Regions from separate parts of the Homo sapiens genome. Here region 2 is linked to region 1. The links are contacts of gene promoters, found by promoter capture Hi-C in human tissues and cell types (Jung and others, 2019). All regions are on one chromosome and are shown on one strand. Each heading gives the region's core, a stretch centred on a gene start or on the middle of the fragment in contact. The rest is flanking DNA. Distances are from core to core; before and after follow the strand shown.

The links. The method cuts DNA at HindIII sites, captures the fragments that hold promoters and counts their contacts. A contact is called where the count stands out against the background at its distance.
Region 2: a contact is called between a fragment that was not itself captured here and the fragment with the promoter of SMYD3 in region 1, in 1 of the 25 tissues and cell types used here (lymphoblastoid cells).

Annotation. Positions count from the first base shown.
Region 1 is chr1:246,505,195-246,509,560 of GRCh38, reverse strand. It overlaps SMYD3 (SET and MYND domain containing 3), which reads left to right and starts at 2,282. Exons shown (of 12, transcript NM_001167740.2): 1 at 2,282-2,507. The coding sequence starts at 2,344. RefSeq lists silencers at 1,423-1,655, 2,145-2,324, 2,595-2,644 and enhancers at 2,330-2,830, 2,831-3,331. The HindIII fragment of the contact is 21,800 bases long and covers 1-4,366 here.
Region 2 is chr1:245,137,392-245,141,667 of GRCh38, reverse strand. No RefSeq gene overlaps it. Among named protein-coding and RNA genes, the nearest start is that of KIF26B, 15 kb to the left of the region's middle. The HindIII fragment of the contact is 3,211 bases long and covers 623-3,833 here.

The sequences.
Region 1 (4,366 bases), core at 1,033-3,532:
GGGGGCCCTGGTACCACGGAGCTCTGCACTGTCACAATTCACCTCGCAGGGGCCGGCGAGATCCCGAAGCCTCGCAGCAACTGCTGCAGCCACAGCAGGCGCCACCACCACATGCCTTCCAGCCGCCAGTGCAGGGTTTCCCGACAGCAGGGTGTCCTGCAGCCCTCGCCTCAGCGGCTCAGACGCTGAAGGTATCTGTGGTTCATGTTTCTAGTGCTCCCACCAAAGAGAATCACTATGGAGGATGCTCTTGGTCCTGAGGTGAGCAAAACAGCACGCCCTGTGAATGGAGCCGGCTTCTTTCCTGGCCACCATGCTTGCTGGATGGGCCCACGGAGCAAGTGGCCTTGAGACGGGCATGGGAACGGAAGAGGCTCAGCATCCTGCACGTGCCCTTACCGAGGCTCACCAGGCTGACACCACTGCTGAGCGCCCCTCCGTGGATGAGACACTTGCACCCAGTCTCTGGGTTGGCACCATTTCCCAGGAGGACCAGCTGGCCACCTGCTGGCAGGCTAATCACACTGTGGAGGGGGCTGAGATTGGCTTTCACTGCACCAAGCCACAATGTGGACGTGGATTTGCCGGCCCTGCAGTGCACACAGCACTGCTTCTGACCAGGACACCCCATTCACAGCTGGGGATGTGCAGCATTGCGCTCCCACCTCAGGGCCTTGGCTCTGCCACCTCGACTTGGAATGTTCTCAGCTCCCTCCAGGCTTCTAGAAGCATCTGGGACACAGCTCATGGCTGGATAAGCACCCGAGGCCCCACAACCCAAACAAGCTTCCCATCCTCATTTTATTTTTTGTCAAACTTATGAAAATTTATTAAGATATGACTTACATCCCTGGTAAGTGCACAGCTTAAAAGATATTCACAGATGGAACACACCAGCCCCCAGATCACAAAGCCAACCATGCCCAGCCCCTCCCAACACCCCCAGCCCTGAAACCAGTGTTCTGACTTCTGACAGCACCACGAGCCTGCCTTTTGTACTTTACACTCATGGAAGCATAACCACCTTCATGTTTTAAAATAAATGTTTACTTTTGAAATGACTTTAGATACACAGAAAAATTGAAAGGCACTATAGTGTACTCCTACACCTTCCATCCAGCTGCCCTTAATAATGACATTTTGCATTACCATGGCACGTTTGTCCAAACTAAGAAATTTAGGCCGGGTGGGCTGGGCGCGGTGGCTCACGCCTGTAATCCCAGCACTTTGAGAGGCCGAGGCGGGCGGATCACAAGGTTAGATCGAGACCATCCTGGCTAACACGGTGAAACCTCGTCTCTACTAAAAATACAAAAATTAGCCGGGCGTGGTGGCAGGCGCCTGTAGTCCCAGCTACTCAAGAGGCTGAGGCAGGAGAATCGCTTGAACCCGGGAGGCAGAGGTTGCAGTGAGCCAATATCGTACCACTGCATTCCAGCCTGGGCGAGAATGAGACTCCGTCTCAAAAAACAAAACAAAACAAAACAAACCCCAAAAACAAAAAAGAAAATTAAGCTGGGTGTGGTGGCTCACACCTGTAATTCCAGCAATTCGAGAGGTCGAGGCAGGAGGTTCAGGTTCACTTGAGGCCAGGAGTTTGCGACTAGCCTGGGCGACATAGGTAGACTGTCTCTGGAGGAAAGTAAAAAGCATTAGCCAGGCATGGTGGCGTGAGCCTATAGTCCCATCTAGTCAGGAGGCCCAGGCGGGAGGATTGCACATGCCTGTAGTCCCAGCTACTATGGAGGCTGAGGCAGGAGAATCGCTTGAACCCGGAGGTCAGAGGTTGCAGTGAGCCGAGATCTCGCCACTGCACTCCAGCCTGGGCGACAGAGCAAGACTCCGTCCTAAAACAAAAAAAAGTTACAGTGCAAAGTACTAGTTGTGATGTCATGATGCCTGCAACTTTGAAATAGTTTAACGACAATACGTGTATACATAGCTACAGGTGGGGAGAGAGTGACGAGCAGAAATGGCAAAGTGCTAGGTTGTCTGATTTAGGCGGAGGTATATAGGTGTTCACTGCACTGTTTTCAACTGTTCCGTATGCGTTAAAATGATCGTAATACAATGTTAGAGGGAGAAAAAAAACCCCGCCTGTCTTCTGCGCAGTCGCCATGGGCACGAGCCGCACGCGGAGCCTTACGACCACCTTCAGGTCCCACACACTCCACTCCAGCCGTCCCTCCAGACTCCATCTGCGCATGCTCTTGCCCCACCGCGCCCGCCCCGCCCCTCGGGCGTACGTGTGCGCGCAGGGCGCAGGCGCGCGGGTCCCGGCAGCCCGTGAGACGCCCGCTGCTGGACGCGGGTAGCCGTCTGAGGTGCCGGAGCTGCGGGAGGATGGAGCCGCTGAAGGTGGAAAAGTTCGCAACCGCCAAGAGGGGAAACGGGCTGCGCGCCGTGACCCCGCTGCGCCCCGGAGAGCTACTCTTCCGCTCGGATCCCTTGGCGTACACGGTGTGCAAGGGGAGTCGTGGCGTCGTCTGCGACCGCTGCCTTCTCGGGTGCGTAAGGAGCGCCCTCGCCTACCTGAGTCGCGAGCTGTGTGGGGTGCTGGGGAGGGGGGGGCGTCGGGCGGCCGGCAGCCGCGGGACTCCTGCTGGATGGGGCTGCACAGGCAGCTTGGCGGTGCTGCCCCTGACGCGCGTGTGCCCGGGGGCGGGTCGCTGCTGACAGGCCCCGCCCGGACACCCCCCTAGGTTGCCGCAGCGGGGCTGGGAGGGGGCCCAGGCTCAGCCACTGCCCCCCAACCTGGGCTGCGGTGGAAATGGGAAAGCCATTGGGCAGACTTGAGGGGGAAGCGTTGTGCCGGGGATAATTTTGCTGGGAGACGAAAAGTCTGTGTGCTGGACAGTCTTCCTTGGTGCGGCTGTGGAAATCACACGTGGCGGGCGTGGGGCTGGGTGGGAGCTGGGATGAGTATAAATCAGGCTCCCCTGCAGAGGCCCCGCCGGTAAAGCATCAGGCTTGCAGCAGGTGGAAGAATCTTGATGTCTACGGTGCACCTCTGTGGTCTGGGTTGTGTGTGGCCTGGGGATACGAAGAGGAACGGGACCTCCTCAAAGAGCTGATCAAGTGAGAGAGAGAATTACAGTGTACCAGAAGGGCTGAAATAGAGGGGCAATTAATGTGCTGTGGGAGCATCAGACACGGGTCCCCCGTGTGCTGTGCCATTTAATGGCTGTGCAGGCATGTCTAACTCTTAACCACCATTCTAGATGCAGGGATTCACGTGAAGGTGTTTTGGAAGCCTGGACGCGCTGTGCCGGTGTAAAGTGCTATGTGAAAGCAATTTATGGAAATGTGTAACATACATGAATAATAGGAACTGCATTCAGTCAACAAATATTATTGAGCTTCTGTGTGCGAGGAAGAAGAGTTCTATTTTGAGATGAGTGCGATGATTTTGTGCATGGCCGCTTTTCAGACCTGCCAGTCTGAGATTTAGGTGGGTGGAGGTGGGACGGTAAGTGCAAAACTCGTATCTGTAATTTGACCATTGTTCTTACTTTGTTCTCATTTGATTCATAATTCAGGAATATGACTTTGCATTTTAGAGCTACCAAATAATAATTTTGTCTGTTGCTTTCTGAAGTAATGATAACAGCGAAAACATCTGTTCGGGAGAGAGCAGCATCTTGAAGTTTTTGTAAACTGTGTGGTTGAAAACAATTCGTTCCTTTCAAGATAGTTCTTGGAACAGAAAAGTTTTGGAATGAATAAATGGTGACAAATTGGCAATTGAATCATTAGAGCTGAAGTTGAGTCTTGTGACACACGGAATTGTGCATTTCCAAAATAAGCTACACAAACCCTTTGTGGGTGGGATGCTTGTTGATTTACCATACTATTTCATTAGTCTCATTCATTTTTCCTGTTTGCAGTAACTGGGGATTTAAGCAAAAAAGGAATTTAATGAAAGAGTTTTGGGGGAGTTCTCAGTGTTGCTTTAAAGTCTGCCAAGACTTGACTGGGCATCGGCTGAACCAAGTTAGGATTGCACTGCAAAAGTAGCTGGGGCTGGGATCTGGGGTGTATATCACTTCTGTCGCCTGATAATATTGGATTCTGCAGTAGGTACCACGAACACCATAGACACTGGACCCTGGTGCTGCTGCTGCTGCTGCTCCTTGGGAAACTCACTGTTGCTGGAGAGTGATTCTCTCAACCATTCTTCTTTGTGATACTGGCTTTTATTCAAAGTCCTCAGTGAGTGTCTTGGATTGGCTAAACTTAGGTCACTGCCTGCACCCCTAGCGCGAGGGAGGTTGAGACGGTATTTAGCCTTTTTGGCTTTTAAGATAGAAGGCAGGCTCACTCTACTTCCCACCGATAGTTATCCAGTGGGGAAATCAGCAAACAT
Region 2 (4,276 bases), core at 979-3,478, 1.4 Mb after region 1:
CCTTAGCTCTCATCTTAATGTTCTTTAAGGGGGAATAAAAAGCAACAGATAAAATGCAGGGATGAGCTAAATCGAGAGGTGTTGCCAACACACCTGCAGAAGGGAAAATAAAGTGTGAAAATATGGAGTCTCAAAAGTATGAGAAAATCAAAGGCATGAAGGCAAGCCAAAACATCAAACTTCCTACTCACGGAGACAATGACCCTGACTCTGCATGGTAGACATTTGGAAAGCAGTTCTTGGCTAGGTGCAGTGGATCACACCTGTAATCCCAACACTTCGGGAGGCTGACGCAGGAGGATTGCTTGCGGCCAGGAATTTGAGACCAGCCTGGGCAGCATCCTAAAACCACATTGCTATTTTTTTTTTTTTTTTGAGACAGTCTTGCTCTGTCACCCAGGCTGGATTGCAGTGGACCAATCTCAGCTCACTGCAACCTCCGCCTCCCGGGTTCAAGCGATTCTCTTGCCTCAGCCTCCCAAGTAGCCAGGACTACAGGCGCCCGCCACCATGCCCAGCTAATTTTTGTATTTTTAGTAGAGACGGGGTTTCACCGTGTTAGCCAGGATGGTCTTGATCTCCTGACCTCATGATCCACCCGCCTCGGCCTCCCAAAGTGCTGGGATTACAGGCGTGAGCCACTGCGCCCAGCCAATTTTTTTTTTTTTTCATTAGCCAGTTGTGGTGTACATCTATCATCCCAGCTACTCAGGAGGCTAAGGTGGGATGATCTCTTGAGCCCAGGAATTCGAGGCTGCAGTGAGCTATGATCATGCCGCTGCACTTCATCCTCATCGACATAGTGAGACTATCTCTTCAAAAAAAAAACAAAAAAAACAGCCATACAAAAGCATGAGATCATGTCCTTTGCAGTGACATGGATGGAGCTGGAGGCCATTATCCTAAGGAACTAACTCAGAGACAGAAAATCAAAACTGCGTGTTCTCACTTGTAAGTGGAGGCAAAACAGTGAGTCCACATGGACATGAAGATGGAAACAGTGGACACGTGGCCTCCAAAGTGGGTGGGCAGGGACTTGCAGGGAGCAAGGGTTGAAAATGTACCCATCAGGTATGATGTTCACTCTCTGGGTAATGTGTACACTAGAAGCCCAGTATACAATGTACCCACGTAACAAGCATGCCCATGTACCCCCTCAATTTGAAATAAAATAAAATTTTAATAAATAAATAAAGCAGTTCTCCCTAAAGACAGGCAAGAGATAATGGAATTAATGTAAACTTTAATTTACATTAATTAAATGTAGTTAATGTAAACTTTAATTTACATTAGTTATGTAAATGAATAATTTACATTAATGAAATTAATTATGTAATTAATTACATAATTAATGTTCAGAAATAATGTAAACTTTTGCTACATTAAGGGAGGCCTACTTCCTGCAGGAAGCGTCTCTCGATGAGTCCCACTGATCCATGACACTCTTCACAGTCCCTCTGGGACTGCAATCTGATCTTCCCTAATCACTAACAATATAGCTATGCACGTGCTATCCATTTGTGTTTTTATTTGCCCTCTTTTCTCTATTAAATTGATTACTCCTGAAGAGTTCTAAACCCACTGTGCAGAGCTAAGGTGCAAAATGATTGCTAATTACAGAGCTCTGACTCAAGATTTGAGACACCCATTTAAGGGTTCAAAAATCTGTGCATTATAACCATTCGACTCTAAGCTCCTTGAGGCTGGTAGCCAGGTCCTTAATCTTTGTGTCCCTAACACTCAGCACAGCACTGGGTGTGGCTCTGGTTACAGGTATATGGAGGAACTCAGTATGTATCATGAATCTAGTGCGTTGCTTTCATGTGAAATAGCTCAGTTGAAACTTTTTCTTTTTTTTTTTTTTTTGAGACAGAGTCTCCCTGTGTTGCCCAGGCTGGAGTGCAGTGGCGCAATCTCAGCTCACTGTAACCTCTGCCGCCCAGATTCAAGCAATTCTTCTGCCTCAGCCTCCCAAGTAGCTGGCGCTGCAGGCACCCACCACCATGCCTGGCTAATTTTTGTATTTTTAGTAGAGATGAGGTTTTGCCATCTTGGCCAGGCTGGTCTCAAACTCCTGACCTCACATGATCCATCCACCTCGGCTTCCCAAACTGCTGAGATTACAGGCGTGAGCCACCGCACCCAGCCTGAAACTTAATCTAAAATATTGCATTCTGTTCTGAACATCTTATTGCCCGAAAGATAAATGTAGTGTATGATCACAGTAATTAAACAACTTAGAAGGGATGGCTTCAAAGTGAAGACTGAAGCAACTAGAATATGTATAAAATCTAAAAATAACTGGTAAAACAAGACTGTTTTCAGGAAGTCCATGTCTAGGGGTGAGAACAAAGAGAGAAACACACCTAGTTTAGGAGGTTTCAAAGGAGGGATGGATTTAAATTAAAATTAAGAAAGTGTAGGCAAGCTTTCAAGGTGAAAACAATGACCGTAAAATCTAGCAGACTGTGAAGTCATCTTCCTTAGTTACTGGAGGCCCATCACTGTTGAATTTTAAATGACACCTGGAAGATTCTCTAGTGCAATATTCACTTCTCTGCCAGCATAGAGCATTATGCTTTAGCAGTTTGGTTTTCAGAATAATTTATACTAAGTGATTAGGACTTCCCCCATATTCTTCTCTGGATAAAGTTAACATCGTTATTTCACTTAGAACTGTGAGAAGCCCCAAAATACAAAAAGCCTAAATGATATGCCAACACCACCAAAGAAGTTAGTGTGGCAGGGAAAGGGTTCGAATTCCAAGTTGCAAGCCACACTTCTCCCTACTTACCCCTCTCCGTGCCACAGTGAACAAGCGACTTTGCTGTTGCAGGATTCCCTGACCCAGAGCAACATACTTCTTGAGACCTACTCATGGCTTCTGTTTTGACCTCCCAAGTGCTACATTCAGGTCATCTTTATTTTTATGTTATTGACAAATTTACATAGACGTTTAAAGCCTTTCCTTCATGTATGCTCTTGTAGCTGAGATGCCCAGAACTGGTGTTTCCACCCCTTTATGGGGGAGGGGGAATGTAATCTAATGTTTAGAAGCTCAGGCTCCAAAGTCAGAAAGCCAGGGTTGAAAATGTGGCCCCACAGCTTTCTAGCTATGCAACCTTGGGCAAGATACTTAGCCTCCACTTTCTCTTTCCTCATCTATAAAATGAGGATGAAGACTGGGCACAGTGGCTCACTCCTGTAATCCCAGCACTTTAGGAGGCTGAGGCAGGTGGATCACCTGAGGTCAGGAGTTCCAGACCAGTCTGGCCAACACGACGAAACCTGATCTCTACTAAAAACACAAAAATTAACTGGGCGTGGTGGCGTGCACCTGTAGTCTCAGCTACTTGGGAGGCTGAGGCACGAGAATCGCTTGAACCCAGGAGGCAGAGGTTGCAGTGAGCTGAGATTGCACCACTGCATGCCAGCGTGGGTGACAGAGTGAGACTCTGTCTCAGAAAAAAAGAAATGAAATAAAATAAAATAAAATGAGGATGAATAATAATGCTTGCCTCATGAGGACTAAATTCGGTAATTTATATGAAAGGCTTAGAATAGTACTGGACACATAGTACAGCTCAATACACTTAAGCTATAATCATTACCTTTTGGTAATTTAAGGTAGACATTCCCTCCACATGTGGACTCTGAAATCTGACAGACCTCAATCCTTGAAATTCATCTGCATCATTGATCTCTTTCTTGGAGAGTCTCTTCCCACAAAAAGGATAACTTGGGGGGAAGCAAGAAGAGAACACAGGGTGGCATCTTCTGCCTCTGCTGGGTCGTCGGCTGGTTCTCCACTCTGGTGTGCCAGCTCTGTACTGGGGAGTAGAAAGCCTGGGGACTATATTTCCCAGTATACCAACTAGGAGCATTCCAACTTAGATTGGGCCGCTGAGAGGCACTCGAGTGAAATTTGGAAAATAGAAGAGAGGCAAGCCGGCTTGCTGCTCCCCCTTCAACAGGTGGCAAACACGGCAAGCATGAGTTTGCCTTGGCATTTGAGCATTTCCCCAGTGAATCCCACCTTGGTACTGCAGGCAAATGTGACCCTGGCAATGGTTTCTGCAGGTTCTGAAACTTGTTGTTTTTCCTGTAACTGGTGGTGGGCCTGAGGGCAATGAATGGCTTTCCTGAACCTTCGCACCTCTAGCCTTCCAGTGATTTTGAAGCTCTAATTCCTAGATCCCTAAATCTCTTCTTGCTTGAACAAAGAAGAACACTAGAGAAGTTACATTATGTGACTTCAAATTATACTACAGAGCTA